Linked DNA regions of Homo sapiens: region 1 is linked to region 2. Evidence: promoter capture Hi-C in human tissues and cell types (Jung and others, 2019). All regions are on one chromosome and are shown on one strand. Each heading gives the region's core, a stretch centred on a gene start or on the middle of the fragment in contact. The rest is flanking DNA. Distances are from core to core; before and after follow the strand shown.

Region 1 (5,507 bases), core at 2,505-5,004, 390 kb before region 2:
AGTTGGTGGACATTTGGGTTGTTTGACCTTTTTTGCTATCATGAATACTGCTGCTAAAAACATTCATGAATTAGCCAGTCGTGGTGGCGCACGCCTGTAGTCCCAGCTATTCGGGAGGCTGAGGCAGAAGAATCACTTGAACCCGGGAGGCAGAGGTTGCAGCGAGCCAAGATCGCGCCACTGCACTCCAGCCTGGGCAATAGAGCAAGACTCCATCTCAAAACAAACAAACAAACAAACAAAAAAATTCATGTACACATTTCTGTGTGGTGGGCATAAATATTCAGCCTCAATTTCCAACAGCACTTTGGCTGAGGGTGGGCTTGGGACACAGAAAAGGAAGGCGGCCACAAAACCCAGCCTGTCTTCTGACTATGACACTGATAGAACCCTCAAGGAAAAGGAAGACAGGAGAGCCGGCTTCCTCCTAGAAAATTCAGCCTAGACCAGGCACGCTGGCTCATGCCTGTAATCCCAACACTTTGGGAGGCTGAGGCGGGCAGATCACTTGAGGTCAGGAGTTCAAGACCAGCCTGGCCAACATGGCAAAACCTTGTCTCTACTAAAAAAAGAACATATAAAAATTAGCCAGGCGTGGTGGTGGATGCCTGTATTCCCAGCTACACAGGAGGCTGAGGCACAAGAATTACTTGAACCCTGGAGGTGGAAGTTGCAGGGAGCCAAGATTGCACCACTGCACTCCAGCCTGGGTGACAGAGCAAGACTCCGTTTCAAAAAAAATAGAAAAGAAAATTCAGCCTAATAAACAAGAGTTGAGGACTTGCTGTGTGCCTGGTTCTGAGACGGGAGCTGGGGGCTGCAGCCTCCCTCCCTCCTCCCTCTTCCTCCTTCCTTCTTTCCAGCATTCCTGTATTAGCATCTACTCTCTGTCAGACTCTCTGGGGGTACCCCCAAGGGTCTTAACCTAATTTTAAAAGGCAGGCAGTTGAATTCAGAATTCTAAGTGTCCCGGTGACTGATGTCGGGCCAGGACAGGAACTACGGTCACCCATGAGAGGGACACCCAACCCAGTTCTAGGGAATCAGGGAAGGCCTCTCGGAGGTTCTTCCTACATTATATTATATAAATTTCCAAACATACAGAAAGCCTTACATGCTCACCACCCAGGCTTAACAGTTATTAGCATCTTGCTAGATTTATTTCTAACTTCCTTCTGAAGGATTTTAAGGTAAACTTCAGACATTGCAGAGGTTCACCCCCAAATACCTCAGTGTTCCTTTTTTTTTTTTTTTTTTTGAGACAGAGTCTCACTCTGTCACCAGGCTGGAGTGCAGTGGCGCAATCTTGGCTCGCTGGAATGCAGTGGCGCAATCTTGGCTCACTGCAACCTCCGCCTCCCGAGTTCAAGGGATTCTCTGGCCTCAGCCTCCCAAGAAGCTAGGATTACAGGAGTGCACCACCACGCCCGATTAATTTTTACATTTTTAGTAGAGACAGGGTTTCACCATGTTGGCCAGGATGGTCTCAATCCCCTGATTTTTTGATCCGCCCGCCTTGGCCTCCCAAAGTGCTGGGATTATAGGCATGAGCCACCACGCCCGGCCTCCTTTTAAAAACAAAGATAGCTGGGCACGGTGGCTCACGCCTGTAATCCCAGCGCTTTGGGAGGCCGAGGCGGGTGGATCGCCTGAGGTCAGGAGTTTGAGGCAAGCCTGGCCAACATGGTGAAACCCCGTCTCCACTAAAAATACAAAAATTAGCCAGACGTGGTGGCACATGCCTATAATCCCAGCTACTTGGGAGGCTGAGGCAGGAGAATCGCTTGAACCCAGGAGGCGGAGGTTGCAGTGAGCCAAGATCATGCCATTGCACTCCAGCCTGGGGGATAAGAGCGAGACTTCGTCTCAAAAAAAAAGAACACACAAAGATAATTTCCTACATAGGGATACCTTTATCACACCAAACGTAGGTCATCATATTTCTTTGATAATCCAATGCCCAGTTCATATTCAAATTTCCCCAGTTATTTCAAGGACATTACGTATAGTTCTTTTGTTTGAAAAAGGATCTAATTACAGTGGAGGTGCCCTTTAATCTGCAACAAGAAGGCAGGGTGAGAAGGCTTTGTGGGCAAAGCAGCTCCTGGGCAAAGGCTCAGGGGGACAGTCTGGGCCTGGGGAAATTGACGAACTCAGCTTGAGGAAGATGGGCCCAGTTCGGAGGCCCTACTGGCCCTGCTGTGTTCCCACTGGAGGAGAGAGAGCGAGCCCTCCTAGGCACAGCTGTGACATGCCCAGAGAGTGGGGCTCTGATGAAAGGGCCTGCTGGTTCTTGCTATGATCCCCAGGGCCTGATTCAGGACACACCTCGGGCTGGAGGGCCTTCTTCGAACCTTCCTTCAGTCAAGGGAGCGGTCAGTCCAACAATCCACGGCTCTGGAAAGTTCCCCCTGAAGATTGGTTCTGTCCTGCTCACCCTGTGCTCCCTATGGGGACAGGCCCTGCCTTGGACTCCCAGGACAGTGTCTTTCTACTGTCTCTCAAGACAGGCAGGGCACTTGTATTAATCCACTTTCACACTGCTGAGAAACACATACCCCAGGCCGGTCACAGTGGCTCACGCCTGTTATGCCAGCATCTTGGGAGGTTGAGGCAGGCAGATCACCTGAGGTCAGGAGTTTGAGACCAGCCTGGCCAACATGGCGAAACCCTGTCTCTACTAAAAATGCAAAAATTAGCCAGGCGTGGTGGCAAGCGCCTGTAATCCCAGCTACTTGGGACGCCAAGGCAGGAGAATCGCTTGAACCAGGGAGGCAGGGGCGGCAGTGAGGCAAAATAGCACCACTGCACTCCAGCCCGGGCAACAGAGTGAGACTCTGTCTCAAAATAAATAAATAAAAATAAAAGACATACCTGACACACCCAAGACTAGGCGATTTACAAAAGAAAGAGATTTAATGGACTCACAGTTCCACGTGGCTGGGGAGGCCTCACAATCATGGCAGAAAGTGAAAGGCACGTCTCACGTGGCAGCAGACAAGGGAAGAGAGTTTGTGCAGGGAGACTGCCCTTTATAAAACCATCAGATCTCATGAGACTTATTCACTATCACATGAATAGCATGGGAAAGACCTGCCCCCATGATTCAATTACCTCCCACTGGGTCACTCCCAACACATGGGAATTGTGGGAGCTACAATTCAAGATGAGATTTGAGTGGGGACACAGCCAAACCATATCAGGACCCTTCCTCCAGCCCTGTTAGGACATGTGGCAGATCCTGACTATAACAGCCCAAGACAGTGCTGTCTCTCCCTCAGGGCCCCATCATCCAGCCCTCTCAACTCCAGGATGGGCTGCCATGGTCCTCTGGGTGCCTTTGCCTGGTTCTAGTCACTGTGTTGAATGTCAGAGAAGGAAATAGCTGCAGTCTCTGTTTAGAGCCCTGTCCTTTGAGAACAGCAGGTACTCTTGATGTGGGCTGTAGATGACCTTTTGAAAATCAGACCCTGCTTCCCAGGAGCCTTTCATCATGTTTCTGAGATGTTGCTCTTCTCTCTTTGATGGAACTTCAGACAGAAGCCAATCTGCAGCCTAAGCCTGCCCGGGCCTTGAGTCCACTTAACAACCTAGGAGCCCTGTTGGATGTGCCAGAGGAGTATTGATAATCAGGGAGCAGAGATAGAGGAGTTAGGCAGGGGCAGCTTGGCCCTCTACGACCTCCTGGCACAGCACCATGAAGCCTAGGTGTCTGGCCCCTGACAATTTGCTCCATGCAGCAAGGGGCAGGGTTGGGAGGGGTCTTTCTTATTCATCAGCCAGTCAATAAAGCATCTTTCCAGGTGGGGCTTTAGTTCAGGCCTTACCTTTCCAGGAACTTCTGTTTGTTTGTTTTGAGATGGAGTTTCGCTCTTGTTGCCCAGGCTTGAGTGCAATGGCACAATCTCGGCTCACTGCAACCTCCGCCTCACGAGTCCAAGCGATTCTCCTGCTTCAGCCTCCCAAGTAGCTGGAACTATAAACACGCACCACCACGCCTGGCTAACTTTTTGTATTTTTAGTAGAGACGGGGTTTCACGATGTTGGCCAGGGTGGTTGAACTCCTGATCGCAGGTGATTCTCCCGCCTCGGCCTCCCAAAGTGCTGGGATTACTGGCATGAGCCACTGCCCTCAGCCTCTGGAAACTTCTTTATCAGCTTACTTCATTAATCAAGCTGTCGGGAGTTGGGTGAATAATTCAGGAGGCCAATTTCATTCAGTCATTCATTTATTCACTCATTCAACATACATTTTTGAGCACACGCTGTTTTCCAGGCACAATTCTAGGGGCTGGGCATATAGTGGTGAAAAAGACAAAGTTCCCACCCTCACAGGGCTGTAGTCTGGCAAATTCGCCTGCATTTAATTGGTTTCAGCAAGAAACAGAATGGCCAGACCACTGAAGGCTCAAGTCAGCTGACCCACCACAGACAGGATCAGCAGGAATGGTGTGGCCAGTAGACCTAATGACCAACGGATATAATTTTAATATATATCCTGGCCAAATCTCATGTTGAACTGTAAACCCTGGTGTTGGAGGCGAGGCCTGGTGGGAGATGTCTGGGTCATGGGAGCGGATCCCTCATGGCTTGGTGCTGTCCTCGTGATAGTAAATGAGTTCTCAGGAGATCTGGTTGTTTAAGTATGTGGCACCCCTCACAACCACCACTCTCTCTCTTGCTCCTGCTCTGGCCACGTGACATGTCTGCTCCCGCTTCATCTTCAGCCAGGAATAAAAGCACCCTGAGGCCTCCCCAGAAGCCAAGCAGGTGCTGGCACCATGGTTGCACAGCCTGCAAAACCATGACCCAATTAAACCTCTTTTGTAAATTACTCAGTCTCAGGTATTTCTTTATAGCAATGCAAGAATGGCCTAATACACCAGCTTTGGTCTCTGGACTACTAGAAGCATCTGAGTACCACAGCGGTGCCCACTTTGGAAAACCCTATTCTATGTCATCACGTACTGGTCATACAAATTGAGACACTGCCCTAGTCATTACAACCAGCCTTGGCTGTCCCTAAATCCCCCTCAGGCACCCACTACTCATCCTTCCCTAGAGAGATCACTTCTATAAATGACACACATCATCCATGACATGGGGATTCCACCTGAATTTACTTAGGGGAATGGTTCAAACCGTATATTTTAACTACACCCGGAGATTCTTCTTCAAGATTCCTTTAAGCGTTTGTCTTAGTCTGTTCCTGCTGCTATAACAAAATACCTTAGTCTGGGTGATTTATAAATAGTAGAAATTTATTTCTCACAGTTCTGGAGGCTGGAAAGTCCAAGATCAAGGGATTGGCAGATCCAGTATCTGGTGAGGGCTCCATCTCTGCTTTCAAGATGGTGCCTTGTTGCTGCGTCCTCCAGAAGAGACAAATGCTGTCTCCTCACATGGTGGAAAGGGAGAAAGGGATGAAAAGGACAAATAGGCTCCCTTCAGCCCTTTTATAAGAACCCTAATCCCATTCATGAGGGCAAGGCCCTCTGACCTAGTCA
Region 2 (5,779 bases), core at 1,809-4,308:
CATGGTAACCCCTTACAAAGGTGTTTCCCCAGGGGTTCCTAGAGTCCTCTGAGTCACCATAATTCTGCGGTCAACAGAAATGGAGAGGTGAGAGGAGACACTCCCCTGCCCTGGCAGGTCCCACATGTTCCTGGCAGTAACCTGCATGGGGAGCCTCGCCACCCGTGTGCCCACCTGCGGAGTTATGTAGTGGTCCCCAACTAGGGCCCCTGCCACCCTCTTTCCTAAGGGAGGCTGCAGACTTCTTCCATGGCCAAAAATCCACATCTAAGTCCCCAGCACTGGCTAAAAGACCCTGTCATGGGGGCTCCCTGTCCCAGCTGACATTGGAGGAAGGATGGTGGGGGAGGCAGGGACCCTCTTCTACTTGGAGCTCAGGGACCCTCTTCCATTCCCACCTGGCTCCTCCTCTTTGCTGGTGCTGGAAGGAGCAGGGGAAAGTGGTGACTCCACCCTCCCTTGACCCCATATTTCTCAGAGCTGGTATCATCGATGACACCCCTCTTGGATCCTCCTACAGGCCTGCCTGGAGAACAGCTCACAGCACAGTGCCCTCCCAGCAGATGATGAGTCTGGGGTGCTAGTCCAGTAATGCTTCAGGAATGACGGCAGAAAAAGGAGCTCTGTTTTCTGCTCTGAAAGTGGGGAGATGGCAGGGCCCCAGCATTCACATCCTAGGCCACAGGGGTGTGGGTGTTCAATGTTGGTTGCCAACACCACTGCCAACCACTTCTGGAAGCGTTTGCCTGTTTGTTTGCTTGTGTTTCTACAGAGTCAAGTGCTAGATGCTCTTAAACTCGGGGGGAAGATTTCACCACTAGAGAGGGTGCTCTTTCCTGCTGCCATCTCTGGGGGCATCTGATGCTTGTGACCTCCAGATTATATTGAAATAGCCCCAACTCTGGGCACCAGGAGACAGGAGGCTCAGTCCTGGCCTTCTCTGCCTTCACCTTTTCCTGCTGTGAGGTTTCCACAAGGCACCCCATGCCACTGGGCCATTCTCACCTGAGAATTGAGAAAGAACAATCTGCCCCTTATGGAAAGACAAAATCAGGCAAAGGGCCCCTTGTGTTGGGGGCAGGATCCCTGCACTCAGAGGGATATAGAAGCTGAAATAACTGGGTTGGGAGCGGTGGCTCATGCCAGTAATCTCAGTACTTTGGGAGGCCAGGGAGGGTGGATCACCTAAAGTCAAGAGCTCGAGACCAGCCTGGCCAACATAGTGAAACCCCGTCTCTATTTAAAAAGTACAAAACTTAGCCCGGCATAGTGGCGGGCGCCTGTAATCCCAGCTACTAGGGAGGCTGAGGCGGGAGAATCACTGGAACCCAGGAGGTGGAGGTTGCTGTGAGGCAACATCATGCCACTGCACTCCAGCCTCAGAGACAGAATGAGACTCCATCAAAAACAAGAAAGAAAGAAAGACAAAGAGAGAAAGAAAGAAAGAAAGAAAGAAAGAGAGAGAGAGAGAGAGAGAGAGAGAGAGAAAGAAAGAAAGAAAGAAAGAAAGAAAGAAAGAAAGAAAGAAAGAAAGAAAGAAAGAAGGAAAGAAAGAAAGGAAACTAAAATAACTAAATAACTGAGTAGCACCACACCACCTGCTCTGGAGAAAGGACTTTTGTTGTTGTTGTTGTTGTTGTTGTCGTTGTTGTGGTTGTTGAAATGGAGTCTCACTCTGGCGCCCAGGCTGGAGTGCCATGGCCCAATCTTGGCTCACGGCAACCTCTGAGTCCTGGGTTCAAGCGATTCTACCTCCTCACCCTCCGGAGTAACTGGGATTGCAGGCTTCTGCCACCACACACAGCTACTTTTGTATTTTTAAGAGATGGAGTTTTGCCATGTTGGCTAGTCTGGCCTTGAACTCCTGACCTCAAGTGATCCACCCACCTCAGTCTTCCAAAGTGCTGGGATTACAGGCATGAGCCACCATGCCCGGCCTGGAGAAAGGACTTTAAATGACGCAATGTGGGAAGAGCCAGGTTGTGGAGATCTGCTGCCCTGGCTGAGGTAGCTCATGCAATCAGTCTCTCTGAGCCTCAGTCTCCTGATCTGTGAAATGGGATGATACTCATACCTCCTACACAAGACAAGTTGCAGGTCAGACGTGAGAATGCACAGGCAGGCCTTTGACAACTGGATAAGCTCTACACAGGTCTGGAAAGGAGGAAGAGACAAAAGAGGACGGGCTTCCATGGCTGGATAGGGCCTCTTTCGGCGTGATGTGTTCTGAGTTTTAAAGCTGGGGAAGAGACTCAAATCTTCAAGAGCTCTTCCAACTTTGAGATTCTCTGTTGGTTTCAGGACTATGGGAGGAAGCGCTTGTGGTCCGTGTCTGTTCCCGGGATTTCTGTTTCTTGGTTTGTATCTCTGCTTCAGGTCCAAGGAGCTGGGGCAATACCTTGAGTCTGGGTTATTCATCCCCAGGGACCTGGGGGAGCCCCACCGCCTCCGCCCCAAGGTTCAGGGAAAGGGGAGAGCAATGTGTGGGGTTGGTTCTCTCTAGTGGTCAGTGTTAGCACTGCATCCAGCTGACTCAGGTGGGCCCAGGAGTCATCAGCAAAAGTGGAATTCAGGACTCAATGGTGCTCAGAACCCCCACAATCTATTGGCTGTGCTTGGCCCCTTTTCCCAACACACACATTCTGTCTGGTGGGTGGAAGTTAAACACGCGGGGAGGAGGAAAGGAATAGGATAGAGAGTGGAATGGGGTCGGTAGGGGTCTCAAGGACTGGCTATCCTGACAGCCTTCCCCGCGTTCAGGTTGACCAACATGGCCTGCAGCCAGAGGGCACCCACCTGACCCTTAAAGAGAGGACAAGTTGGGTGGAGTCTGTGGCTGACACTCTGTGCACAATCCTTACAACACTGGTGATGGTGAGAAGGGAAAGACGACAAGCCAGGGGGCATGATCCCAGCATGTGTGGGAGGAGCTTCTAAATTATCCACTAGCACAAGCCCGTCAGTGGCCCCATGCATAAATGTACACAGAAACAGGTGGGGTCAAGCAGGGAGAGAGAACTGGCCAGGGTATAAAAAGGGCCCACAAGAGACCGGCTCTAGGATCCCAAGGCCCAACTCCCCGAACCACTCAGGGTCCTGTGGACAGCTCACCTAGTGGCAATGGCTCCAGGTAAGCGCCCCTAAAATCCCTTTGGGCACAACGTGTCCTGAGGGGAGAGGCAGCGCCCTGTAGATGGGACGGGGGCACTAACCCTCAGGTTTGGGGCTTATGAATGTGAGTATCGCCATCTAAGGCCAGATATTTGGCCAATCTCTGAATGTTCCTGGTCTCTGGAGGGATGGAGAGAGAGAAAAAAAACAAACAGCTCCTGGAGCAGGGAGAGCGCTGGCCTCTTCCTCTCCGGCTCCCTCCATTGCCCTCCGGTTTCTCCCCAGGCTCCCGGACGTCCCTGCTCCTGGCTTTTGCCCTGCTCTGCCTGCCCTGGCTTCAAGAGGCTGGTGCCGTCCAAACCGTTCCCTTATCCAGGCTTTTTGACCACGCTATGCTCCAAGCCCATCGCGCGCACCAGCTGGCCATTGACACCTACCAGGAGTTTGTAAGTTCTTGGGGAATGGGTGCGGGTCAGGGGTGGCAAGAAGGGGTGACTTTCCCCCACTGGGGAAGTAATGGGAGGAGACTAAGGAGCTCAGGGTTGTTTTCTGAAGCGAAAATGCAGGCAGATGAGCATAGGCTGAGCCAGGTTCCCAGAAAAGCAACAATGGGAGCTGGTCTCCAGCATAGAAACCAGCAGTCCTTCTTGGTGGGGGGTCCTTCTCCTAGGAAGAAACCTATATCCCAAAGGACCAGAAGTATTCATTCCTGCATGACTCCCAGACCTCCTTCTGCTTCTCAGACTCTATTCCGACACCCTCCAACATGGAGGAAACGCAACAGAAATCCGTGAGTGGATGCCGTCTCCCCTAGGCGGGGATGGGGGAGACCTGTGGTCAGGGCTCCCGGGCAGCACAGCCACTGCCGGTCCTTCCCCTGCAGAATCTAGAGCTGCTCCGCATCTCCCTGCTGCTCATCGAGTCGTGGCTGGAGCCCGTGCGGTTCCTCAGGAGTATGTTCGCCAACAACCTGGTGTATGACACCTCGGACAGCGATGACTATCACCTCCTAAAGGACCTAGAGGAAGGCATCCAAACGCTGATGGGGGTGAGGGTGGCGCCAGGGGTCACCAATCCTGGAACCCCACTGGCTTCGAGGGCTGGGGGAGAGAAATACTGCTGCCCTCTTTTTAGCAGTAAGGCGCTGACCCAAGAGAACTCACCTTATTCTTCATTTCGCCTGGTGAATCCTCCAGGCCTTTCTCTACACCCTGAAGGGGAGGGAGGAAAATGGATAAATGAGAGAGGGAGGGAACAGTGCCCAAGCGCTTGGCCTCTCCTTCTCTTCCTTCACTTTGCAGAGGCTGGAAGACGGCAGCCGCCGGACTGGGCAGATCCTCAAGCAGACCTACAGCAAGTTTGACACAAACTCGCACAACCATGACGCACTGCTCAAGAACTACGGGCTGCTCTACTGCTTCAGGAAGGACATGGACAAGGTCGAGACATTCCTGCGCATGGTGCAGTGCCGCTCTGTGGAGGGCAGCTGTGGCTTCTAGGTGCCCGAGTAGCATCCTGTGACCCCTCCCCAGTGCCTCTCCTGGCCCTGAAGGTGCCACTCCAGTGCCCACCAGCCTTGTCCTAATAAAATTAAGTTGTATCATTTCATCTGACTAGGTGTCATTCTATAATATTATGGGGTGGAAGGTGGTGGTATGGAGCAAGGGGTAGGTGGAAAGAAGACCTGGAGGGCCTTCAAGGTCTATTGGGAACTAGGCCACTGAAATATAAGAGGTTTGGCTGTTCCTGGGCCAGAAAAAAGCTGACACATCACTGCTGTCTATTACTCACTAAGGCCATTCCACCAGCTCAGTGGTCCCAGCTTGCTGGTCACAGCCCATTGGTCATCTCAGAGATGACTTGAAGGCATTTCTTCCTCCCCCACCATCACCAGCAACACCAAACCTAGCCCCCCAGGAGCGGAAAGAAATGAAAACAAGATGGGCTATTAAGTGCAGAGGCAAAAACTCCCCAACAGGTGAGGAAACAATGGCATAGAATTACTTGTGTTCGGAAGAATTTTAAGATGAGTATTCCTTAAGCCCAACTACTCTCGGGAAATGAGAACAATGCAAAAATGAGTTTGAGACATACAGAACCAGAGCATTTGGAATCTGAATTAGGGCAAGGGAAGTGGAAGAGAGATTTTATTTGGGGTTGTAAATGCAGTGCCAACAGGTTCCAGGTAGATAACAATGTAAGCAATGAGGGCTGGATGGGAGGGGATAAATCCCAGATGACACTCACTTCCCTTCGGGGGATGCAACACAGAGGGGTGGGAACCAGCACAATCTGCAGAACTCAGGCCCCTGCTGAGGTGGGACCCACCCAGCCTGTCACCATCAGGACTGCAGGGACACGGCTTCCAGACCTTCTGACCTTTTGAGACAGCCAGGACATCCAGACTTTTACAGGAATTCTAACATTTAAACACTGGCAACACATATTGAAAATCTTTTAAGGGCAAAAATTAACCGAAACACACATGGTCTCCAAGCTGTCTGTGAGCAATTTTGTTCTAAGAGATGTTGATTGGGGTAACTTGGTGTAAGGGAAAGAATCAGAAAGATTTGGGCTGTATGTAATTTAGTGCCCCCGAATAAATTACTTGACCAAGCTGAGATAATAATATATTGCTTTACAAGGATTATGTGAGGACTAAATGCAA

Evidence for each region. The method cuts DNA at HindIII sites, captures the fragments that hold promoters and counts their contacts. A contact is called where the count stands out against the background at its distance.
Region 1: a fragment that was not itself captured here is called in contact with the fragment with the promoter of CSH1 in region 2 in 1 of the 25 tissues and cell types used here (lymphoblastoid cells).

What each region holds. Positions count from the first base shown.
Region 1 is chr17:64,283,530-64,289,036 of GRCh38, reverse strand. No RefSeq gene overlaps it. Among named protein-coding and RNA genes, the nearest start is that of TEX2, 23 kb to the right of the region's middle. The HindIII fragment of the contact is 7,519 bases long and covers 1-5,507 here.
Region 2 is chr17:63,893,853-63,899,631 of GRCh38, reverse strand. CSH1 (chorionic somatomammotropin hormone 1) reads left to right here and starts at 3,058. Exons shown (of 5, transcript NM_001317.6): 1 at 3,058-3,130; 2 at 3,397-3,557; 3 at 3,782-3,901; 4 at 3,995-4,159; 5 at 4,413-4,714. The coding sequence starts at 3,121. The coding sequence ends at 4,610. The HindIII fragment of the contact is 19,326 bases long and covers 1-4,518 here.